2 separate regions of the Homo sapiens genome follow, and region 2 is linked to region 1. Evidence: promoter capture Hi-C in 16 types of primary human blood cells and fetal thymus (Javierre and others, 2016). All regions are on one chromosome and are shown on one strand. Each heading gives the region's core, a stretch centred on a gene start or on the middle of the fragment in contact. The rest is flanking DNA. Distances are from core to core; before and after follow the strand shown.

Region 1 (6,473 bases), core at 1,597-4,096:
ATAACTAAGTCTATATACAGAGAGCAGTAGAAACCTCTTATGAACTATGATGGAAATGATTGCATTAACCATCCTCTTTTTGGACTGAAATAATGCTCCTAAAACGTAAGAATGGTTTAAAGAAAAGTTTACGTGTCAGCTAATAGCAAGAAATCAAAATGATATTTTAAAAATCACTTATTTTTTTTTAAGAATAAAAATCTCTTCTCCAACGAAGTGTTTTCCAAATATCCTACCATTTCTCCAATCTACTTCAAAAGAGTATCAGTCATGGTTTTCAACTTCTATAGGGGAAAAAGTAATATCGACAGCTTGATAAAAGCATCTTCCTTTTAAACTCATTCTACCAGCTGGACACTAGTCTGCAAATAAAATTCAGGCTTTTTTCCCCCTTGGGTATTAACAAACCAGTGTAAGTCTGCACAATGTATTTTCAGCTAAATTCTTTCCTCGTCTGAATATTTTTGTTCTCTTCACTCCTCCTCAAATATTCTTCATGGAATACACACCCAGAGATTTCCACTTTCCCAGTTCTGCGTAGTTCATAAAACTATTCCGATAACTAATTCTTACCAACTACTATGAAAATTATGAGATTATGAAAACTATACAAGATTAAGAACATTAAAAGTATCCTACATAAGTACACTTAACACTCATTTTCCTTCCATTTTAACACCTCATCTGTCTCTAAAACACATAACGAGTTAAACTTGACCTTAGCCAAGATGCCTGTAGAGCTTCAGAAATTTATTCAGTGCCTGTATCAAATATAAAAGATCCTTAAGTAGTAAAACTTTTCTCCCCTTGTCTATAATCTCCAGGGGTAAACATTTCAAATTTTTAAAGGCTCCTGCTTTTAACCCAAATTAAAGATTTTTCTCAACAAGACTGTTAATATAACGACTTCATCTTACACGGTGGACACTATCCTCATTTTGCTTTTAAGCCACTTGGCACCAATAGAGCATATGTTCTGCCAGTTCTGAGCTAATCTCCAGGAAAGGCTTTGTATAACGATTAAAGAAACTCAGATCAGTGCCCAAGATTTTTAACGGCCTACTTGAGCATATGTTTTTTTGTTTGTTTGTTTGTTTGTTTTGGTATGTTTTTGCGACGGAGTTTCGCTCTTGTGGCCCAGGCTGGAGTGCAGTGGCACGATCTCGGCTCACTGCAACCTCTGCCGCCCGGGTTCAAGCGATTCCCCTGCCTCGGCTTCCCAAGTAGCTGGGATTACAGACATGCGCCACCACGCCTGGCTAATTTTGTATATTTAGTAGAGACGGGGGTTTCACTATATTGGTCAGGCTGGTCTCGAACTCCTGACCTCAGGTGATCTACCCACGTCGGCCTCCCAAAGTGCTGGGATTATAGGCATGAGCCACCGCGCCCGGCTGTGCATATGTTTTTAATACACAGTTAATTTACGATAAAATAGCTATTTCACTAGCCTTTCTTTATAATTTACATAAACCATTCTAAAATGAAAACGAAATACATGACTGCAGATGCAGGCTCATTTCAACTTTAGGATTAGAGGTAATTCCGAACCATTACATACACAGCACTGGATCTGCAACACACTTCACCTTAGTTCGCAGTTTAACCACGGGTGTCCAGTGGAAATTACAATCCCGGTGACTACACTGCTTTAAATGTTTCCTAAGGTTTCAACGAGTGCAACAGTAACTTCCTATCCCAGACAGCGTCTTACTGTTATTACTAAAACAGCTGTCAGCTAAGCTTCGCATACCTCTTTGTACAACCGTTTATTCAACGCTTTGGGATCTGTAAGGATGCGTCACTCCACATCACTCCTCAAAACGAGATCTAAGAACCTGACGTGCTCCAGGGGTCTTGAAGCATCACAAGTGGGTACTTGAAAAACGATGACGGGAACTGCCTGTCCAATGCGGCAAGGTTATTTTACACTGGCATTTAAGACAGAACTGTAGAGTGGCTGCTCTTTCCCCGGACACTACTAAAGCAGCAATTTCCCCTTCTTGATTTCATCCACCTCTCCCAGGACCCGGGTACCTCCGACGCTCCCGGCCCGAGCGGCCGCGGCAGACTCCCCGGCGTCGGCGCACGCTCGGCGGCTGGCGGCGGGAACGCGCGGCGGGCCGGGCGCGCCCCCGCCCCCGCGGGTCCGACCGCCGCACGCCAGCGGCGCCCTCTCGGCCGCGCACACTCACACTCGCACGCACACGCTCCTCCGGCCCCGCCATGTTCCGGGAGGCGGCGGCAGCCCAGCCCCGCCAGCCGCGGTGAGGGGCGCCCGCGACGAGGCCAGCTCGCGGCCCTCCGCCCGGCCCCCGCCCCGCCCCGCGCAGCGCCCCCGCCCAGTTGGCGGCTCCCACCTGCGCCGCGGCTCCTCGCGACGCCGGGAGGGGCGGCGGCGGGCGGGGCCCCGGCGGACCCGCGCCGGGGGGCACTAACGGCCTGTCACTGTCAGGCGAGCTACGGCTCGGGCCAGGCTGGGCGGGCGGCGCGTCGGGACCGGGGGGGGCGGGCAGGGCGCGTCCCCTACCTTGCTCTGGGGAGGGGGAACGGGAGCAGCGCAGAACTGAGGGGATCTCCTCCCTGGCGCCGGGGACAAGCTCGAAACCGCGCCCCTCCTTCCTCCTTTCCTGTCGCCACGCCCCCCTCACCCGTACGGACCCGAGGCAAGGCCGGCGCAGGAGGCTTCACCCCCGGAACGAGTGCTTCGGCGTAGCCGTCGCTGTCGTTGTCTTCGTCGCCGCTGCAGCCGCCTGTAAAGCCGCCGGAGCCGGGCTTGAAAACATCTCCGGTCTCGGTCCGTCTCTCACCACAGCCTCCTCGCTCCCAGGACAGCGTCGCCCCGCGATTGGCTGCGACGCGAGCACGTGACACCCGCGGACACGTGACTACCGCGGGCACGGGACGGGCGGCGTGACCGCCCCGCCCCCCGGCGCCCGCCCCTCCTGCTGCTCAGCCAGGCTCCGCGAGCCGCAGGGCGGGGAAGCGGGACGTACCAAGCGGCAGGCGGCGGAGGGGTGCGGGCCGGAACTCCGCCCTTCGTGCTGGTCGGTCTCCACGCCCCACTCGGACTAGTGTCACCGCCTCCCCGCCGCAGACACTATCCGACAAAGGAGGGGGAATCAAAGGCTGGGCGAAGAGGCAGGGCAGGCGCCGGTGACGCTGCTGGGCAAGCGGGCTCTGCAGTAGCATTTGTGGCGACCGTGGCAGTGGCTGTGACTGGAAGCTTCTGGAAATGGCGGCGATGAGGACCCCCACATAGGGTATTCACCTGTTATTTTTACACGGGGTGGGTGGACGAGCGTGATCCAACTCAGGCAAAATGACGCTGCGACCGCAGCCCGAGGACTAGGCGAAGTTCCCCCGCTAAGCCGGCGGCGGCCGTCTGGCCCCGCACCAGGCCGGAGAAGCTGCACCTACGCCCAGAGCCCGCGGCCCCCCGCCTCAGGTGGGGCCCTGGGCCCCGCCCCGAAAGCGCGGTAGCGTGCACCTGCCCTGGCACCAGGGGGTCTAGAGCGCGTCCCCTCCCAGCCACGCCTTCCAGTGGCCTTTTTAAAGAGGAATTCAGTGCACCCTCCCACACGTAGTGTTGGGGATTTGAGAGGGAGCTGCTCAGGTACTAGGAAGGGTGCCGGAGGAAAATTGACCGTCGCAGCGTGGCAGCAGCGTGTACTCACTCCCTTCTGGGCGCGTTATTTACGTAGAGGTTAATCTGCAACAACAGCGTCTGTTTATGACTTAGTGCATGCAGTTACAAGTTTATGTTACACTGTCCTTTAACGTCTTGATGAACTGAGGGTTCAGGTGTGATCACAGCAGATGAAGTGACATTCAGACCTGACAGGGACGGCGAGGTCCCATCAAATTACTATGTAAAGCATAAACCTGCATTAAAGATCAGGAGTTTTTCCTTTCCTGGGTTCCTGATTTCTCCCACCTACAAATCTTTAGGGTCAACAAGACTAGAAAAAGAGCACCTTATGGCTAGAGGTGGAATAGTGTTACATTTAACTTGGTTATTTATGATGTGAAATACAAAGAAAAAAACAGTCGCCTATGAGAAAGTCAGGAGAGCTCCAGGGTAGGACATTTTCATTGTTACTTTTTTGTGCCACTTGGAAAATTAACTGTTGTTTACCTTCTCTCAATTAAAAAAAAAATCTTAAAGACATACTTAAAAATAATCGTTATAGCCGAGCGCAGTGGCTCACGCCTGTAATCCCAGCAATTTGGGAGGCTCAGGCGGGCAGATGGCTTGAGCCCAGGAGTTTGAGACCAGCCAGGCAACATAGTAAGACCCTGTCTCTAAAAAAATATATGAAAATTAACCAGGCTGGTGGCGCCTGCCTGTGCTCCCAGCTGCTCAGGAGGCTGAGGCCAGGGTATTGCAGTGAACCAAGATCACACCACTGCACTCCAGCCTGGGGACACAGCCTGTCTCAAAAAAAAAAAGCATAATTACTAGTGAATAGTCTGTTTCAAGTACAGGTGACTTTGAGAAATCGAGGATTAGATTAATATAAATTATTCATGCATTAAAGCTGGCTAATGCAAAACTAATGTACTACAGCTAATTTCTTAAATACACAAAAGGGTTTATCCTTTTTTCTAAGTTGTAATATCCATACCACTGCAGAGTACATAATCATACTTCCAATCCCTTCACCCAATTATTTTTTGTATACTTGCAGTGTCAGAATAGCTAAGGATAATGTCAAGTGTTTTGGACCTTTCTTTTTTAAAAATGGTAATGCTTAAGCCGGGCGTGGTGGCTCACGCCTGTAATGCTTGCAGTGAGCCGAGATCCCACCACTGCACTCCAGCTTGGGAGACAGCGAGACTCCGTCTCAAAAAAAAAAAAAAAAAAAAAAAGGCTTCTAGAGACAACTACCATATCCTCCTTAAACCTACAGTGTGCTTGAGGTCTTACCAGTTGGAAATACAGTAACAATTATGTGTTTTAAATAATGTTTAAAGGGAGCACTGACAAAGTTTATAGAAAGATCATGTTAACTTAAAACTTGGCTGTGGCTAAAGATGGGAAAGCAAAACATTTGTAATTTAACCAAATTTTTACTTCACAGTAACCTGATCTTGATAAAAGCGATCTGGAAATTGAAAATGGGTGACACTAGAGTAACTGTTAACTAGATTATATAATGATGTCTTCACAGCCATAGATAGAAGACTTTAAAATGGTCCTCTGTCATTATGACATAATACTTAGAGCTGCAAGTTGCTACGGTTAGCATGAGGATGTACACAGAGCAGAATAAACAAATAAGTTTACGTAGATTGGAAGTCCATATTTTATTTCTCTAGTGACATATTTACAGTTCAATATAAATTAAAGGCCTGCTTGTACACCAAATCCAGGTCCCTTGGGTGGTTCAGTCAAAGAGGTAAGACCTCCAGCTGGCTCACAAGAGAAGCGTCCACTCCTGAAATGAAAAGTAATATTAAACTATTAATGATTAACATTTGTAAATTTTTACTTAAATTGTAATGGTTACCTCACAAGAGCCCAGTTAAGTAACTATTTTTACCCTAAGAACTAGCATAGATTATTTAATTCAAACATTTCAACTGATGCAAGATTTTCTCTTCCTAAATTTAAATATGGAAAAACATCAGACTTCACCATAAACATAAAAAATACAAAAGTAGCCCTAATAATAGTTCCTATTTACTGAGCAGTATGCATACACTAGCTCATTGAATCCTTACGATGCCACAAGACAAGTGATACTGGCTTTATTTTACAGTTAGAGAAACCAAATTTGGGAGATTCAGCATCTACCCAAGAATCAAAGCAAAGAACTACGGCAAAAATACCCAACCCCAGAGAACATTTTTAAAAACCATGTTTTAATAAACTAGAGCACTGTATTTCTTTTTAGAGTTGAATTTTATTTAGATCAAGATCCACAGTCACAGTGAATAGAGGGAATACACACACTTATACATTGTATTTGGAAATAGAAACTGGATTCCTTGAGGAAATATGATTTGGGACAATGTCCCTTAGAAGCAGCGAAGTCAAAATCAGTTTGTATTTATGTATTATAAAGACTATATTAGTAGTAGTAATTTTCTGAAAAAAGTTTCCAAACCAGGATGGCCATAGCAGCCACAAAAGGAAGCAAACAAGAACAAGTCCTGATGGAGCAATTTATGAAGACAGGCAGCATAGAGGGAGAAGAACCTGTCTGTCAACCCCACACACGCTTTCCCAGGTAATTGCTCACCTCTGCCCTGTCTGACCTCTGTTTCTAGAGCCCAGCTCAGACTTACTGTATGTCACCCCTCCACCACTATTCCCTGGCTTTGCTAATTTACCTGTTCCTGCCACAGATTTACCTAAAGAAAGAACTTGTTCAGTTTATATCTTTTCAACCCCCTCTGGCTTTGCCCTTCACATTGTGTCATCAATCCTTTAAGTCTGTTCTTTAGAGCCCTAGGGAATCATTTTT
Region 2 (6,473 bases), core at 2,545-5,044, 270 kb before region 1:
CCACAAAGCCTGCATGGGTCAGCAGTCTAAAAATGGCCTCAGCCACGTGGCTAAAGGTGTATCTGCAATACTGCAAATAGCCCAGTAGAAACCTGGACACCAGGTTGAAGTGTGGGAAGCGGAAGTGTAGGGTAATGATGAAGTTAGGATGCTGCTGAGGAATGTCCTGGGGTCAAAGGCTACACCATTGTGAGCCGCTCAGTGAAAGGCGTGAGGAACGGACGCAGAGGGACAAGTGTCTCAGATTGATGAAACCATACTTACAGGGGGAGTGACAGAGGCTCCAGGGGATGTCCACCTGGACTGCTGAGATGGGCCTAGTGGTGAGCAGGGACATGCTGCCTGGATCTGAGAGGTCTGCTGCACAGTTGACACTTACTTGTCTGAGGGCACTGAGGAGCCACTGTTTAAAGCATATGTAGGTTAAGATTCGCCATCACTCATCCACAGAAGAGCTGGTGCCCATTGAGTGTGAGACATTAGGTGCTGAGGAGCTGTGTTTAGGGCAGTGACAAACCAAAGAAACAAGGTCCCTGCCCTCAAGGGCCCCACAGTCTAAGAGGAGAATGCATGATAAACAAGTAACCGATGAATACTTTTGGAGAGGTGTCTGCTGTTAAAGAAAGCAGACAAATGGGATGGGGGAGTGGGGAGGGGCTGCTCCTTTAGAAGTGGTCAGAGGGCCAGGCACAGTGGCTCATGCCTGTAATCCCAGCATTTTGGGAGGTTGAGGCGGGTGGATCACTTGAACTCAGGAGTTTGAGACCAGCCTGGCCAACACGGCAAAACCCCGTCTCTGTCAAAAATAACAAAAAATTCGCCAGGCATTGTGGTGTGCACCTGTGAACCCAGCTACTTGTGAGGCTGAGGTGAGGAGGATCGCTGAGCCAGGGAGGCGAAGGCTGCAGTGAGCCAAAATGGTGCCACTGCACTCCAGCCTGGGTGACAGACGGAGACCCCATCTCAAAAAAAAAAAAAAAAAAAAAAAAGGGAGGTCAGAGCAAGGAGCCACAATCTGCACAGAAAGCAGGTCCAGCAGGGGAAACAACTCCTGCGACAGCCTGAGGGTGAGAGAGACGGCAGCACGAGCTTGGCCTGCTGAGGCAGGGGTCAGCAGTGATGGGAGTGGGGATAAGACATGAGACAGGAAGAGGAGATGCCAGCCGAGGCTGTGAGACAAGGAGTCTTGGGACACAAATGCAGTCCACAAACCCAGGGCTGCAACGCATTCTGTCTCATTGTTTTCTTGGAATCAAGTAAAATCCGACTCTGAGCCTCATCCCATCCAACACTGGCCAGGAGAGAGGCTCTGCCACCCATCTTGGGACTCACAGAACCCTGGTGGCAAGTCTTGGGGGCTTTGGACAATGAGGGCTGGGCTGCTAATATTTCTAAGTAGAAACCCCTGGAAAGAAGCAACTGCAGGCTCGGGTTTCCCGTGAGTCACGGGCCGAGAGCGCTGGTCTCCACGGTCAAGAGACCTGGGCCTCTGGGACCTACCTTCCTGGCCCCTCTCTCAGGCCCTCAAAGGCCTCATTCTCTCCCTTCCCCTAGCAGAACACCCCGGAGCCAGGGAGGCTTCAGGAAAACAAGAGATAGGTTCTCTGCCCTTGCTCGACTTCCTAGTGGGTAACTCATACCTTTCCGAGGCAGACGAGCGCAACGGCCTTGCTCTTTGCCTAGAACTGGGGGTGGAAGCAGTAATTACCGGTACACGTGTTCTAGAAAGATTACGCTGGCTGCAGAGGGAAGTACCTAAGTTAGACGGGCAGGAAACACATTTCTGCCATAAAGATATTTCGCCGGTGACTGTGCCTAACTTCAGGGGCTATCTTCAGCCCAGTGAGGGAAGTCCTGTCTCCCTGACTGGCGGGGCGCCTGCACTCTCCAGGCGTCATTCGGTGAGTCACAGCGCGGACTCCAGGTTTCCCAGCATTACTGGGAGGGGGCAGAATTCTTTTCCTCTTTGCATCTGCACGGAGAATTCTCATCTCAAAAGCCAAACCTTGGAGTTGTTGCTGACTCCACACTTCAAGCAGACTTTAAAATAAAAGGAGGTAGAACATACTTTTTTTTTTTTTTTTTAATTGAGACGGAGTTTCACTCTTGTGGCCCAGGCTGGAGGGCAGCGGCGCATTCTCGGCTCACTGCAACCTCCGCTTCCCGGCTTCAAGCGAGTCTCCTGCCTCAGCCTCCTGAGTAGCTGGGATTACAGGCACGTGCCACCACACCTGGCTAATTTTTGTATTTTTTAGTAGAGACGGGGTTTCACCACGTTGGCCAGGCTGGTCTCGAACTCCTAACCTCAGGTGATCTGCCCGCCTCCGCCTCCCAAAGTGTTGGGATTACAGGCGTGAGCCACTGCGCCTGGCCCACATTTACTTTTTACTGGTTAGTTAAAGCTCAAAGGTCAAAGAGCTGTAATGGCTAACACCCACCAGCTAATGGCGCTAATGGCATGTCTGCCTGGCTTACTGAGCTCAGTGCCTGCCAGGTCTGGAGCAGCCCCATGGGGCCGGATGCGCCATGTTGTCTGCAATGTCTCCTGGAGCCTTGGGCTTGGATGCCTCCCCTTCCAGCTCAGCTTCACTCTCTCTGACTGTCCACATGACTAGCTGCTGTGTGGACACCTTCAGCAAAAGCACAGCTTTCCTGGTCAAACGTTGTATCTGTCCTTGAAACTCATCCTACCTTCCGAATGCCCCAGCTCCTTTCTTAAGTCACTCAGGCTGTCCTCTTGAGTTCTTCCCCTCTCTAGATCCCCCAGGCACGAGGCTGCCAAAACATGGACTCTGAAATAAGGTGGATTTTGCCATGGCAGCACAGTTTGTGGCTCTCAATTCTAACAGTATCCTGTGGGAGAGCTGAGAAAGGTTTTTCCCTACCTTGATCCTTCTGCAACTCCTTGCAACCTTTAGATCATTCTTATAAAGTTGGTTGGCATCTGAAGGCCCACAGAGCAAGCAGAATAGTAAAGTATTCATTTAAAAGGTTCCCCCATATTGGAATAAAGCATATGAAAAAGCAGACAGCAAAATGTTCTAAGATCTGTTCTGAGAGAATCTGTAGAGACATCCTGAGAAAAGAACATTCTTTGCTGATTGTTTTTTTTGTTTGTTTGTTTTTTAAGACAGGGTCTTGCTCTGTCACCCAGGCAGAGGTGCAGTGGCACAATCAGGGCTCACTGCAGCTTCCGCCTCCCTGGGCTCAAGTGATCCTCCCACCTCAGCCTCTAGAGTAGGTGGGACTACAGGCACATAATTACTGTGTCTGGAGTTGGCTCCTGCTGGTGGGTTCGTGGTCTTGCTGACTTCAAGAATGGAGCCGCAGACCTTCTCAGTGAGTGTTACAACTCTTAAAGATGGCACGGACCCAAAGAGAGAGCAATAGCAGGGTTTATGGTGAAGAGCAAAAGGACAAAGCTTCCACAGGGTGGAAGGGGACCCGAGCTGGTTGCCGCTGTTGGCTGGGGTGGCTAGCTTTTATTCCCTTATTGGCCCCTCCCCACCATGTTCTGTTTCTGTCCTATCAGAGTGCCCTTTTTTCAATCCTCTCTGCGATTGGCTACTTTTAGGATCCTGCTGATTGGTGTGTTTTACAGAGCACTGATTGGTGCATTTTACAACCCTCTTGCTAGCTACAGAGCGCTGATTGGTGTGTTTTACAGAGCACTGATTGGTGCATTTTACAATGCTCTTGCTAGCTTCAGAGCACTGATTGGTGCATTTTACAATCCTCTTGTAAGACAGAAAAGTTCTCCAAGTCCCCACTCGAAACAAGAAGTCCAGGTGGCTTCACCTCTCATCAACATGCCCGGATAATTTTTTTATTTTTGTAAAGACGAGGTTTCACCATGTTGCCCAGGCTGGTCTTGAACTCCTGAGATCAAGTGATTTGCCCACCTCAGCCTCCCAAAGTGACACCGCACCCGGCCCGCTGATCACTTAAACACTATCTTCTTTAGACAGAATGTCAAATTTATGTCTATGCTGAAGTTAACAAAAAATATGACTCACTCATTTCAATTTTTTATTAAAATACTTTTTTGTTAATAGGGACAACCAAAGAAAAATACACAATTTTATATGTTGTAGATCATATAAAATACAATAAACATAAACTCTTGGGAATGCAGAATAGATTTCAAAATCTTAAAAGAAGCTTTCATAAAAATAAACTTTAGAAATGTGGCTTATATTTACTGCATTTTTTCAGAAAACTTTCTTTTCTCCATTTTAATGCTACCCTGATTATAAATAATGGTCCAAATTTCTAACATCTTATCAATTTTGCTTTCTGGAATTTTAGAAATCACATGTCTAAATGAAGACCTCTTTTTTATACCACCCTACATAAACACAGAATAGATTTTATTTAAATTACCATTTGATTTGGCACCACTATTGTAAATACAATTTTAGTAATAATTAAATGTTATGGGGGAAAAACTAACAGAAAAACCTGCTAACAAGCACAAGTCTTACTATAAGAAAGGATCTTTTATATATGGCTTTTATGATACCCACTGATTTAAAACCTAGTGCTTTAAAAATCTGGTTATAAAAAAAGTAATAACCTAATTTTTTATTAAAAAAGAAAAAAGAATTTTTACCAAAACTTCAATATAGAAGTGAATGTGCTTAGAATGGTAATAGAGGATCTAACTTTTAACCAGGCTATCAACTTCTGGAATATTTACTTTCAATTTGGAAAAATATTGTTATTCAGAACCTGAAATACATTATAAAACTGGAAATGGAATCTTTTAGGTGAATTCTTTCTTTCAAACCCTCATAAATCAGAAAAAATAAGCCAAATTTGAAGGCAAAAGATCTTTACATTTAGGGATAGTTTCTAATGAAAGAAATCAAGATAAGAAAAATCAATTAAAACAATGTGGTTTAAGAAATTATCCTCCTAATGTAGGGGGTGGGAAACAGATATTACATTTTAAAATTTAATGAAGACCTAAAAAATGATAAATGCAGTTTTAAAATATTTGTTGTCATCATTAAGAAAACATTAGGCATGTTGCCAACACACACACAAACATCACTCCACTCACAGTAGGAAATGACTGAAAAACAGCAGAGTTGAACTGCAGCAGGAGACTGCAGATTCCTTTCAGCTTTCTGTCTAAAGTTCCAGAATACTTTCAGCTCTACAGATGCTCATGAAGAAGGGGAGCTAAATGTTTTCAAGGCACTTTTAAATGAGGCATTCTAGGTAAAAGGAAGAAAAGGAGACCCTAATGTTTCCCTACCAAAAAATATATCCATGAGCTAAATCTCAACTTTTTAAAAGGCTAAAATATCTTGAATATTCATTAGAGTTATTTGAAAGAGCAGAAAAGGTATTAAGACCTTAATTTATAACAGTTGATCATAATATTACAAATGATCTTTTAACTAACTACTATTCAGATCATGAATAATACAAAATGTGTCCAAGAGCATTATCTATTTTTATATACTAAAATATGTAGACGTATAAAGAGGTATTCCTAAAAAGTTGCTTGTAGTTCAAATATGCACTAGAGCAATTAGTAATTTTGTAAAATTGAGTCTGTAATATAAATATTTATGTTTTAGATTCATGCTTTAAGATTGAGATTTTATTACTATGAAGGGCACATAGTATCTTTATTGAAAGAAACATTTATTGAAACATTATATAAAATGTTGACTAAATTCTGTAGTGTATTTGGAGTGAACATCATCTTGAATAGAGATTCTAAAATTTCATAATCTTAACCTCCGACGATATGATTATACTTGTTTAAAAAGAACATTATATCCAGATATAAACTTAACAAATGAAATATTACAAAATATGAACATAGATAGTTTTGTTTCCCATAATAATTCCCAGCATTTTCACCCTGTCCTGTTCATACGAGTCAATTCTCTTCTTCAATTCCTGTCCCATCAGCCGTCTGCTGAAAAACACTGCTTTGTCTTGGCTAAGGCTGCACAAGTTCAGTCTCGCACTGGCTCAGCCTCCCCTTTCAGCAACACCATTTCCCTACCAGGGTACAAGCTGTTTCCTGGTGCTCTAGGTGGAGTCTGATTTGGCATTCGTTCCCCATCCCTAGTGCTCTTTAAGCTGGTACCTGAAGTCACAGAAACGCTTTGCTTGCTAATTATTTACACCAGCAGTGCATTTAAAGCAATTTCATAGGTACACCCTGAAAATCTTGGTAAAGATTCTTCATCACTGCCTATGTCAGCACTTTGGGCAGGGGAAATGGAAGAGAATAGGAAACTTTCTCTAAAGCTTTGTCAACACATGTATTATAGAATGGATTCTACTATGTAAGAGTTCTCAATTATAAAATATGGTAAGCATTTACCTTTTAAAACCAACATAAAAGGGATGAAATTAAGCTTTTTATGATGATATTTTTATATGAGTTATCAGAGTGGTATATCAAATATCTACTCTATTTATAAAATGGATAAAACAAGGCACAA

What was found. Contacts are between HindIII fragments. The CHiCAGO score rates a contact against its expected background, and 5 or more counts as called.
Region 2: a fragment that was not itself captured here is called in contact with the fragment with the promoter of ANKRD12 in region 1 in 1 of 17 cell types (megakaryocytes); the score reaches 5.6 in megakaryocytes.

Annotation. Positions count from the first base shown.
Region 1 is chr18:9,133,154-9,139,626 of GRCh38, reverse strand. It overlaps ANKRD12 (ankyrin repeat domain 12), which reads right to left and starts at 2,846. Exons shown (of 13, transcript NM_015208.5): 1 at 2,662-2,846. It overlaps NDUFV2-AS1 (NDUFV2 antisense RNA 1), which reads left to right and starts at 2,907. Exons shown (of 3, transcript NR_110772.1): 1 at 2,907-3,263; 2 at 6,117-6,236. It overlaps NDUFV2 (NADH:ubiquinone oxidoreductase core subunit V2), which reads right to left. Exons shown (of 8, transcript NM_021074.5): 8 at 5,286-5,441. The coding sequence ends at 5,348. RefSeq lists silencers at 2,079-2,128, 2,169-2,568, 2,779-3,128, 3,479-3,568, 3,571-3,744 and enhancers at 2,699-2,748, 3,239-3,288. The HindIII fragment of the contact is 1,483 bases long and covers 1,746-3,228 here.
Region 2 is chr18:9,399,964-9,406,436 of GRCh38, reverse strand. It overlaps TWSG1 (twisted gastrulation BMP signaling modulator 1), which reads right to left. Exons shown (of 5, transcript NM_020648.6): 5 at 4,017-6,473. LOC105371980 (a long non-coding RNA gene) reads right to left here and starts at 2,044. Exons shown (of 3, transcript XR_001753550.2): 1 at 1,641-2,044; 2 at 265-403. The HindIII fragment of the contact is 739 bases long and covers 3,425-4,163 here.